2 separate regions of the Homo sapiens genome follow, and region 2 is linked to region 1. The links are contacts of gene promoters, found by promoter capture Hi-C in human tissues and cell types (Jung and others, 2019). All regions are on one chromosome and are shown on one strand. The core of a region is centred on a gene start or on the middle of the fragment in contact, and the rest is flanking DNA. Distances in the headings are between cores, read along the strand shown.

What was found. Contacts are between HindIII fragments. The study calls those that stand out against the background at their distance.
Region 2: a fragment that was not itself captured here is called in contact with the fragment with the promoter of RCVRN in region 1 in 4 of the 25 tissues and cell types used here (aorta, dorsolateral prefrontal cortex, pancreas and 1 more).

The regions. Positions count from the first base shown.
Region 1 is chr17:9,902,973-9,908,968 of GRCh38, reverse strand. It overlaps RCVRN (recoverin), which reads left to right and starts at 3,698. Exons shown (of 3, transcript NM_002903.3): 1 at 3,698-4,169. The coding sequence starts at 3,789. The HindIII fragment of the contact is 14,018 bases long and covers 1-5,996 here.
Region 2 is chr17:9,867,471-9,873,466 of GRCh38, reverse strand. GLP2R (glucagon like peptide 2 receptor) reads right to left here. Exons shown (of 13, transcript NM_004246.3): 10 at 2,632-2,720. Among named protein-coding and RNA genes, the nearest start is that of RCVRN, 35 kb to the left of the region's middle. The HindIII fragment of the contact is 5,557 bases long and covers 898-5,996 here.

The DNA.
Region 1 (5,996 bases), core at 2,449-4,948:
TTCTCTGTCTCCCCCGCCACCTTCTCCATACCCCCTTTTCCCTCTCAATGCGGACTTCTCTGCAGGTGCTGGCTCCAGGCCAGAGGGCAGGAGGGTCGTCTTGGCCTTCAGCTCATAGCAGGCAAGGTCGAGCAATGGGGAAGGGGTGGCGTCTGGGTCCCAGCTAATGGCCAAGATGGAGCTCCTGCTTGAGGGGACAGGGCCAGCTTCTGGGAAGCATCTTTCAGTCCAGCGAGGAGAGCGAGACCAAAACTGGGATCCTCTGCCTGGAGATGAAGCCTTCTCCTCTAGAGCAGTCTTTGGGTTTTGGGAGAGTTTATGGCCCCAGCTCAGACTTAACAAATCGACTCACAATACATCATCTCCAACAACTTGTTTGGCTAAGGAGCATAAGCTCTCCCTCTGATAGAAGATGTTTATGCAGGTTTTCAAACAAACCTCCAGGTCATGACCCCTCACTCTCAGCATCAACACAGCTGCCTGCGGTCCCCTGGGGCCCCTCCTGGGCACAGCAACCTGGAGAATGTGGACTGTACCAGGCTGCTTCCGACCTGGGTCCAGCTCCTTCCTCCTTGTGCCTGGAGAGGACAGCAAAGACTGGAGGGCTCTGGCTGCCTTCTGCCTCGCCCAGGGCCTCTTTCATTGACATGGTAACCCCACCTCCTCACCTACTTGTCCTCTAGGCTCAGGCCTCCTGTGACGTAGACAAAGGAAGCCTAAATGGACAGGCTGGCAGACCTGGACTTTCCTTCCTTCTGGCATTGCCATTTAGCAACCATGTGACCCCAGGCTGGTGACATGCCTTTAGGAGGCCCCACTTCTCACTTGTAACACTGGCTTCGCCTCATCTGCTGCAGGCTTGATGTGGACAGGGGTGCGATCCAGGAGGCACTTCCAGTCGCCCCCTACTAGTGGCTCAGAGCAAGGGGCCGAGGCCTCTGACCTCACTCTCCCTCCATCCCCAGGGCTGCAAGGAAGCTCTGGAATGAATGCGATTCCAGGGTGTGGCTTGGGCTCCCGTTTGTTTTCAAGGCTAGTGACTGTCCTGTTTCTAACTGCTCTTGAGAATAAATGCACGCTACAGGATGGTGAAAGCCTAGGAGAGGAAGGACTCCTATTCAGAAGTAATATTCTCACTGGGCGCAGTGGCTCATGCCTGTAATCCCAGCACTTGGGGAGGCCAAAGCAGGCAGATCATGAGGTCAGGGGATCGAGACCGGCCTGACCAACAAGGTGAAATCCCATCTCTGCTAAAAACACAAAAATTAGCTGGGCATGGTGGTGAGCGCCTGTAATCCCAGCTACTTGGGAGGCTGAGGCAGGAAAATCGCTTGAACCTGGGAGGCAGAGGTTGCAGTGAGCCGAGATCGTGCCATTGCACTCCAGCCTGGGCGCAGAATGAGGCTCTGTCTTAAAAAAAAAAAAACAAAAAAAACAAACAAACAAAAAAAAAAAAACTCACAAAGTGATGGAAAAAAATTAGAAAGTTCACACACACACCCCAATATGCAGGTTTCCTGAGAAATCTCTGAAACTGTACTGGGCAGAGCGGCTGGGAGGGATGAGTCTGCCCCTTGGTGCCTGAACCTCTCGGTCCTTCCAGAGTGACATGAGGTGGGCCTGGCAGGTGGCTTTCTCCCAGCAGCAGGGACCTACCTTCTGCTGCCACTAGCCTGTTAGTAAGTAGGCTAAAATCCCCACTTTACACTTTGAGATGCAAGGCGGGCGGATCACCTGAGGTCAGGAGTTTACGAGACCAGCCTGACCAATATGGTGAAACCTCGACTCTACTAAAAATACCAAAAAAAAATTAGCTGGGCGTGGTGGCAGACACCTGTAGTCCCAGCTTCTCAGGGGACTGAGACAGGAGAATTGCTTGAAACCAGGAGGCGGAGGTTGCAGTGAGCCAAGATCGTGCCCAGCCTAAGTGACAGAGGGAGACTCCGTCTAAAAAAAAACCAGTTTACCTGCCTGGAGACCGTGGGGTTTATTCTTCATCATTCTCACCCCAGGGCAAAAAGAGACAACTCTCCATCCACGGTGGCAAGGCTGGGGTTCTGAGTGTGTCCCCTCGAGCACTGCGCTCCGCTAAGGAAAGTGCACGCCCACCCTCCCTTCCTTCTGGGTGACAAGAATCCAGGTGTGCAGCGTCCTCACTAGGTTGCTTCCTCGTGCTTGATACTCCCCGCTGAGCTGCACAGACGCGAAGCCTGCCTTTGCACAGCTCCGTCTCTGACCACTCAGTTATTTATCCATTCACTCAGCAAACACGTTTTCTTGCCTGCTCACTCCAAGTCCACTGCAGACGGACACCCTGCAGCCTGCCATGGACCCACAGATAGATTGTGTTTGGCCCACACCATGTTTTGTTTTGTTTTTGTTTTTGTTTTTGTTTTGTTTTTTTGAGATGGAGTCTCACACTTGTCACCCAGGCTGGAGTGCAATGGTGCAATCTCGGCTCACTGCAACCTCTGCCTCCCGGGTTCAAGCGATTCTCCAGCCTCAGCCTCCCAAGTAGCTGGGATTACAGTCACCTGCCACCATGCCCGGCTAATTTTTTGTATTTTTAGTAGAGACAGGGTTTCACCATGTTGGCCAGGCTGGTCTCGAACTCCTAACCTTGTAATCTCCCCACTCAGTCTCCCAAAGTGCTGGGATTACAGACGTGAGCCACCATTAAAATTTTGAATTAATTGCCAAAGTTGAAAAGTGTGGAAATTGCAAGAAAAATTCTGATTTTTGGATTTCTCTTGAATAATTTAAAAAAACCCAAAAATCTCACCATCCCATGTGACCACGTTCTCTGGCAGCCCCTTCCCGAGGTGACACAGGCCTGGCTGCCCCCTGCTGGTCCCTTCAGGCAGTTCACCTTCACTCCCTGTGACTGATGGACAATAACAAAACGAGTGTTTAGCATTAGCCATGTGCCAGTTTCTAAGTGTGTCAGACATATTGACTCACATCAGCCTCACAATGACAGTGTGGTAGATGCTATGATGCCCATTTATTCAAGAAAGACTTGCTGGGGGCCCAAGCCTATCAGGTTCTGGCAATGGAAATGCATCCGGGAACAACACAGACAAAATCCCATCCTTCACGGAGCTTTCATTCCGGTGAGGGGACATGCAGCGTGCCGATGATGGTGGGGGTTGTGCTATTATAGATAGAGGGTCAGTATAGGCCTGGCTGAGCAGGTGACATTTAAGCAGAGACATGACTGCAGTGAAGGTTTAGAAGAGTGTCCCAGGTGGAAAGAGGTGAAGAAACAAGCCTGGGGCCACACAGCTAGTTAAGTAGCCAAGCTGGGACTTGAACCCATGCTGGCCCCAGAGTCTGTGCTCCTAACCATTGCATTCTAGGGCTTGATATGAGATGCCAGCCCCGCCCCGAGATGCTCAGAGTTAGTGAGGAAGAGAAACAGGGAACATGGCTGCTGTTAGAGGGCTGGGGCTGGGGGTGCCGGAGGCCCCAGCTCTGAGGGTTCCAACCTCCTGTCCTGTTCTAGTATCGTCCCGGGAGGCCGAGATGAATTGCCTGCCTGCCCTGGGCTCTTTATTTTAATCTCACTAGGGTTCTGGGAGCACCCCCCCCCACCGCTCCCGCCCTCCACAAAGCTCCTGGGCCCCTCCTCCCTTCAAGGATTGCGAAGAACTGGTCGCAAATCCTCCTAAGCCACCAGCATCTCGGTCTTCAGCTCACACCAGCCTTGAGCCCAGCCTGCGGCCAGGGGACCACGCACGTCCCACCCACCCAGCGACTCCCCAGCCGCTGCCCACTCTTCCTCACTCATGGGGAACAGCAAAAGTGGGGCCCTGTCCAAGGAGATCCTGGAGGAGCTGCAGCTGAACACCAAGTTCTCGGAGGAGGAGCTGTGCTCCTGGTACCAGTCCTTCCTGAAGGACTGTCCCACCGGCCGCATCACCCAGCAGCAGTTCCAGAGCATCTACGCCAAGTTCTTCCCCGACACCGACCCCAAGGCCTACGCCCAGCATGTGTTCCGCAGCTTCGATTCCAACCTCGACGGCACCCTGGACTTCAAGGAGTACGTCATCGCCCTGCACATGACCACCGCGGGCAAGACCAACCAGAAGCTGGAGTGGGCCTTCTCCCTCTACGACGTGGACGGTAACGGGACCATCAGCAAGAATGAAGTGCTGGAGATCGTCATGGTCAGTCTCCCCTCTCCCCTTCTGGCTGGGCGGTGCCGGGGTCGCTCCGGGCTGGGGGTCCCCTGCTGCAGCTGCTGCAGAGGGAGTGGATCTGTGGGTGGAGCGGGGGATGCGGGCCACTGGCTCTGAGAGCGTGGTGCTCCGAGATGCTGATATTGATAGAGGGGTGGGCACTTGCCCACAGCTTCGTTGTCTTCCCGGAGCAGAATCTGAGTGTTTCCTAATACAGCCATGTTATGCTTGGCTTCACGATGTTTGGGTCAACAACGGACGATATAGACCACTGTGGTCCCATAAGATTGTAATGGAGCTGAAAAATTCCTACTGCCTAGTGACGTCATAGCACAGTTACTTTATTTTTCAAATGCATTTAGTGTAGCCTAAGTGTATCCGTAAAGTCTGTAGTTGTGTACGGTAATGTCCTAGTTCTTCACATTCACTCACTACTCACTCACTGACTCACCCAGAGCAACTCCCAGTCCTGCAAGCTCCACTCATGGTGAGTGCCCTAGACAGGTCTACCATTTTGTATCTTGGTTTTTTATTTTTTATTTTTTTGAGATGGAGTCTCACTCTGTAGCCCAGAGCTGGAGTGCAATAGTGCGATCTTGGCTCACTGCAACCTCTGCCTCCCGAGTTCAAGCAATTCTCCTGTCTCAGCCTCCCGAGTAGCTGGGATTACAGGTGTGCACCACTATGCCTAGCTAATTTTTGTATTTTTAGTAGAGACGGGGTTTCACCATGTTGGTCAGGCTGGTCTCAAACTCCCGACCTCCAGCGATCCGCCAGCCTCAGCCTCCCAAAGTGCTGGGATTTACAGGCATGAGCCACTGTGCCCGGCCCATTTTTTATCTTTATACTGTATTTTTACTGCATGATTTCTATGTTTAGCTATGTTTAGATGCACAAATACTTACCATCGTGTGACAACTGCCTGCAACATTCAGGACAGTCACGTGCTGCACAGGTTTGTAGCCTAGGAGCAAAAGGCTGGACCATGGAGCTCAGGGATGTAGTCGGCTCTACCATCTGTGTTCGTGCAAGGATGCTCTATGATGTTCCCACATAGAAGTTGCCTTAAGATGTGTTTCTCGGAATGTATTCCTGTCTCTGAGCGACACGTGACTATATTTACATTTTTTCTTTCTCTCCATCCTTTGTTTCTTCCTTCCTTTATTAAAATGTCCTTTGAAATTTTCAGCAGTACACATTCAAGTTGAATCACTGTTCATTCTAAACACACAATATGCTTCTAATATAAAGTAGAAAGAGGTCAAAGTTGGGGGCATGAACTCTGAGTTCTAGTCCTCATGTTCTCCCCAGCGCGGGGCGGATCATGGCACCACGCATGAGCCCCCGCTTCCCACGCGCGGCGTGGCTCCCCGGCTCCTGACAGTTTCCCTGTGAGGCGCACAGGCTTCCATATGGTTCCCAACACGCCTTCTCCCCTGTCCATACTGTCCTCCTGTCAGATCCTTTGTTGTGAAAGTAATGGCAAAAACCATAATTACTTTTCCACTAACCTCGTAGGTGTCTTGAAAATGGTTTATCTGATATAAAAGTAACTCATGAAATTTAGAAACCTAGGCAAAAGAGACTAACAATTGCCTCTAATTCCAACATCCAGGGAAAACTTTTCTTAGTATATCAGTATATACCTTTTCAGTCTTTTACCTATATAATTTTAAATAATGTTAAAGCTATGACATATTCACATACGATTTTTTATCATACATTTTTCAGTTACTCTTTTATCATGAGTGCTTTCCATATCATTACATATTCTTCCAAAACACTTTTTTTTTTTCTTCAGACAGAGTTTTGCTC
Region 2 (5,996 bases), core at 2,427-4,926, 35 kb after region 1:
TCTATCCCGCATTTATGGAGTCAGAATACCCAGTGGTAGGGCTCACAAGGCTGCACTTCTGGCCAGCTGTCCGGGGATGCTGATGAGGAGCTATGATGAAAAACTATTTAGGGGTTGCTGTGGGTCTTGGGCATGGCGAAGGTGCCAGTGGCCCGTGATAGGCTTTGGGGGCACAAAGCAGCAGTGTGTCAGCTCTGAGTCCCTTTGGGGTCAACTGCACCATTTCTGTCTCCTGGAAACACTAGCCTCTGTCCACTTTCTGGGGCACCCTGGTTTTCCTGGCACCTGTTTATTGAGAGAACTCTCCTCCCTGAGTGCACCCAGCAGGGTGGACTAGAGCAGGCTTTGAAGCTCCACCCTGAAAGAGTGGTGAGAGAGGCTAAGCCTTTGGGAAGGGAGCCAGAGAGACTGCTTGGCCACTTGGAGCCTCGACTGGAGGCGCCAAGAGAGACAGCGTGGCTCCCTGGAGCCCAGGCCAGGCCGGCTCCCCAGGGCTACGGGTTTCTTGCAAAATGTTTGGACCAAAGCTCCAACTAGCAACTATAGTATGTCTGCCCATTATTGAACCGGGTATGTTTACCCTTCTAGACCTCCTAGAGGGAGGGTAGAGTGGCCACCCATATTTATAACCATATCTACAGACTCCTTGAATCCTCATAATAAGCAGGAGATGAGTCTGCAGTGACACTCCCATTTTTACACACCAGAAAGCAGGCCAAAGGGGCCAAGGCACTTGCCTAAGGCCAGTAGGCAAGTCTAGGGTCGTGGCCAGCTCCCTCCGTTCCACCTCCTGCTCCATGCCAACATCCTAGTCCTTAGCAAAGTAGAATGCATGCTCCTCAAATGCAGGGTCTACATCGTGTACACCGTTTTTTGTTTGTTTGTTTTTGAGATGGAGTTTTGCTCTTGTCACCCAGGCCGGAGTACAATGGCACGATCTCGGCTTACTGCAACCTCCGCCTCCCGAATTCAAGTGATTCTCCTGCCTCAGCCTCCTGAGTAGCTGGGATTACAGGCACACACCACCACACCCAGCTAATTTTTGTATTTTTAGTAGAGACAGGGTTTTGCCATGTTGGCCAGGCTAGTCTTGAACTCCTGACCTCAGGTGATATGCCCACCTTGGCCTCCCAAAGTACTGGGATTACAGGCGTGAGTCACCGAACCTGGCCTCATGTCCACCTTTTATTCCAAGCACAGTACCAGGCACATTGTAGGCATCTATTAAATATTTGTCAGATAAAAGGAAAAACTCCCTTCCCAGCACCTGGGTGAGGCCTTATAAAGGGGAGAGAAACAGGGCTAGGGCCATCTTCACTCGTGCCCACCTCTTCTGCCTTCCTGTGTGGACTGAAATTCCTACTCTTAGAGCTACTCTGTGGGTTAAAACACTCCCGTTCCAGAGCCCTGCTGAATGCATATGCCACATAGAAAGCAAAGAATAGGCCACGTGTGGTGGCTCACGCCTGTAATCCCAGCACTTTGGGAGGCCAAGGCTAGTGGATCATGAGGTCAGGAGTTTGAGATCAGCCTGGCCAACATGGTGAAACTCTGTCTCTACTAAAAATACAAAAATTAGCCGGACGTGGTGGCAGGTGCCTGTAATCCCAGCTACTCAGGAGGCTGAGGCAGGAGAATGGCTTGAATCTGGGAGGTGGAGGTTGCAGCGAGCTGAGATCATGCCATTGCACTCCAGCCTGGGCGACAAGAGCAAGACTCTGTCAAAAAAAAAAAAAAAAAAAAAAGAAAGAAAGTAAAGAATAACTAGGAAAAGAGGGAGGAAACCCTTTATCTCTCTTCATTCATTCATTTGCTTTTACAACAATGCAGATCTAATAAATACCTATGATCTGACTGACTATGAATGAGGACTGCTGTCATCTCAGAAAGAGGAAGGTGAGATGCAGCGACAACAAGTCACAATTAAAGGATGCCTGTGGAAGGATGTCTTTCCTTAGACCCTAAAAGTTTGTGGTCTCATTTCTCAAGGTCTCAAAAACACCCAAATAATCTCTTCTCTTCAAATCCTTCCCCAAGGAAGGCAACTGCCAAACTTCTCTTCAAACAAGACTGTCCTTTTCCCACAACCACCCATTCTTAGAAACTTTTTTTTTTTTTTTTTTGAGACAGGGTCACCCAGGCTGGAGTGCAGTGGCACAATCATGGCTCACTGCAGCCTCGACCTTCTGGGCTCAAGCAAGCCCCTCACCTTAGCCTGGGACTACAGGCATGCACCACGCCTGGCTAACTTTTGTATTTTTGGTAGAAACGGGGTTTCACCATGTTGTCCAGGCTGTTCTCAAACTCATGGCCTCAAGTAATCCTCTTGTCCCAGCCTCCCAAAGTCCTGGGATTACAGGTCTGAGACATCACTCCTGCCCTCTTAGGGGCATTTTAACAGTTTTCTGCTGGGGGATGTGAATGCCCTTGACTACTCACCATTTGCTTCATCGTCATAGAAGGTCCTCACCATTGACAAAAGCCTCACTTGATCCTATAGCACCTTCCCAGAACTGCTCTTTCTGATACCCTGGCCTTAGGAGATAAATGTCCTTCCCAAGACAGCGGGCAGAACAGCCAGAGTACTTACAATAACCTTGGACTGCTGGGGACCAACCTTAAGCCACTCACCTGTATTTATAATCTCTGAAGCACATTTGATGAGCTTTGAGCTTAGAAATGAGAAGCTTGAGAATTTTCAGGAAGATGAAGAAATTGACCTTGAAAAAAAGAGCAGAATTGGGTAAGTAAGTGACGAATTCCACATAGCTGTGAACTTCAAGGTCAGGCTGGGCTCGGCCATCAGTTCCATCAGTTCAATGTAAACCAGGGGCAATTCAGCAGTTAGCTGGCCAGGTAGTAAATGCTTAGCTGTGATCTCCACTGTCCTAAAGGCCATCTGAATCTCCACTGTCCCAAAGGCCATCTGAATCTCCAAAGTCCCAAAGGTCATCTGAACTGAAAGTCTGGAAGGAATTTCAGAAAGTGATTTAGTTTATTATTCTGCCTTAAGGAGGCCCATCATTAAGGCCATCTAGAAAGGCAGGTGGACGTTCACATTATTATTATTACTATTATTGTTATTATTATTAACTACCACGTATTGAGTACTTATCACTTAGTACTTAGCACCATGTCAGGCTTTGGGCTAAGAATGGTCCAGGCATTCTTGTATCTAGTTTTTACAACATCCCCTTAAGGTAGCCACAACTATTTTTATCCTCATAAAACAATGAGAAAACAGGCACAGAGAAGTAAGTGTAATTCCCAGGTTGCATGGCTAGTCAGTGATTAAGCCTGTAATTAAACCCAGATTCATGGGATTATAACCCTCCCTTCACTTAAACAGAACGCTATTCTGCCTCTCTTCTGTAAAGAACTCCATCCCTATTGGTGTCTAACTTGAGATCCTGTTGCTGCTATGGAATTCATAGACAGAATATGCTCTCTACTCCCTAGAATACATTCCACGACTGTCATGGACTGGGAAAATCCAGCCCTCCATTGTCAGCCTTTAAAGAAATTTAAAAATATGCCTGCAAATTCCTTGGCCCTTCTGCCTTCAAAAGTGGAGGCTAATCCCCCTTATTCCCCTTGTGAGGTGAGCTAGATTTAGTTACTTGCACTTAACGAAAAGAATATGGTGTCATAGAAGTGGTGCTATGTGACTTCTGGGCTAGGTCCTCAAAAGGATGGCTGGCTTCCACCCAGCTCTCTCTTTCTCTCTCTCTCTCTCTTAGGTTTCTCACTCCAGGGGAAGTCAGCCACCATTTTGTGAAGACACTCAAGCAGCCTGTTGGGAGATCCACGTGGGGTAACTGAGTTCTCAGGCCCAAAACCAGCACCACCCACCACCAGCTACGTGTGTGCGCCACCTTGGGAGCTGATCCTCCAGCCCCAGCCAAGCCTTCAGATGGCTGCGGCCCTGGCTGCCGTCTTGGCTGCAGCCTCGGGAGAGATCAAGAGCCCCCTGGAAGTGGTGAAAAGCAGGTGGCTGGGTTTGGGTAGAGCTTGGAGAATGAGAACAGGGTTTGTGAGAAGTGAGACTGGGCAGGAGAGGGGGGTCCGTTTCTGCAGGGTCTTTCACAGCCGTGGTAGGTAAGGAGTTTGGGTTTTCTTCTGAAAGCAATGAAGAGCCAGTGATAGATTTTAAGCACGCAAGTGACCTGATCAGATTTGTACTTCTGCATTTCAGAAAGATAATTTCAGCAGCAGTGTGGAGAATGGATTGGGTGAGGGTAAGGCTGGAGGAGGGGAGATCAGTTGGGAAGTAGTTTCAGAGTTCCTGGGGGACGGTGATGGAGAAAAGAAATCAGCAGCAGTTCTGGTGCTTCCATGATGGAGAGGAAGGGATCAATTTGAAATGATGAAGAAGTATGAGTCAAATGATCTTTGTTATTGACTGGATGTGAGGGCCTGAAGCCAGCAGGAATGATGGAGGTTCCTAGCCAAAGAATATTTAGGAACAGAAAGTTTAAATACAAGGTAAATGTAATCAAGTAATGTATTTCTTTTAATGGGATATCTGCCTCTCATCATAAAGAGAAAACGTTGTGTCCTTGGCTTAGTGATTTATTGAACATAGGCATTTTTCTTACAAAGCAAGCTTAACAGCAGAAAGGCATTTATTTCAGCAAATTAATTTCAATCAGGACTGTCTCCTAGGCAATGAAAGGTTATAATGGGAAGCATGTTGATTCACTGTTCTCTGTGTCTTCCAGAGACCAGACATGAGAAAATGGGCATCAACCCATAGAACGTACGAAGGAGGCACTTCCTCACTGCCACAGGATGAAACCCTAGCTGGGGGTACCATGAAGCCTCTGCTCATCTGGGCTTCCAAGAAGACAAGAGTCAGCAGGTACTTTTGGATGGTGCTGTTCTTCATTTTCACACAAGCAGGAAAGGGGCTGAGTGAGGACATTTTCCAAGAACCCAGCCAACTCCTCCAGGATTTTGTGACCAGATGGGGGTGGGTGCTAAGGACCCCAAATATATAAGGATCTATCCCAGATGCATTCTCAGATGTGACATTCTTGGTGACACTTTCTTGTTACCCCAGCTTCTGTGCACAGATCTGGGCCTACAAGTTGGCAGAGGTGATTGCCGGTATAGCGGGAGCTCAGGGGTAGGCCTCATCTACCCCTAAACTCTTCCATCTACCGCCAAACCCCTCCTCCTCTGGCCTGCTGTGTGGACTAAAATGCTAATCCTGTAGAGCTACTCTTGTGAGTCAAAACACTCTTTCCCCAAGAGCCCTGCTGAAAGGCACACAACCCACTGAAGCTAAGGAATCACTGGGAGAGGAGGAAGGAAGCCCTTTCTCCTTTCATTCATTCATTCATTTTTGCAACAATGAAGACTTCAGTAAGTTACCTAGGCTCTGGCTTATTATCACCATTTAAAGCAGAAGATGGGGTGTAGCAAAGCTAAGTTTTGATGGGGTGGGAAAACCCAGAGTACAGGGAGAGTCACACTTTAAGTCTTTAGAAGAGGAGAGCACAGGAGTGAGGAAATGTCTTGGGAAGCCTGAAGCCACAGAAAGCCCCTGGGTTCCTGGTGGGGCAGAGGACCTAAAGAGGGACAAGGCCAGTGAAGACAAATTTTACCAGTGCATCAACTTTGCCAAGTTCTGAGGCTATCACGGAAGATTCAACAATAGCAAATGCAGGCTTTTGACTTTATGATTTCATAAAGTCAACAGATGGTTCATTCAATTTGTTAGCTCAAAACAGCCATTTCACCGGGTCTGTTAACTGCAGGGTGCAGGGTATGGATAGAATGACCTTGCATGATGTAATTATTGTCTAAGGCTGTCCTTGAGCAGGACTAATCAAGACTTTACCAATATTCTACTGAGGGCTGGGGAGACTAGGCTGTAAGAATATGCCAGTTTCCGAGATGATTCAACTCTAAATGTACATTTCAGATGACAGGTGAAGTAGTGAAGTCTTATACAAAGAAAGAGGTGGGAATTCTACAATTTCTGCCTGGCA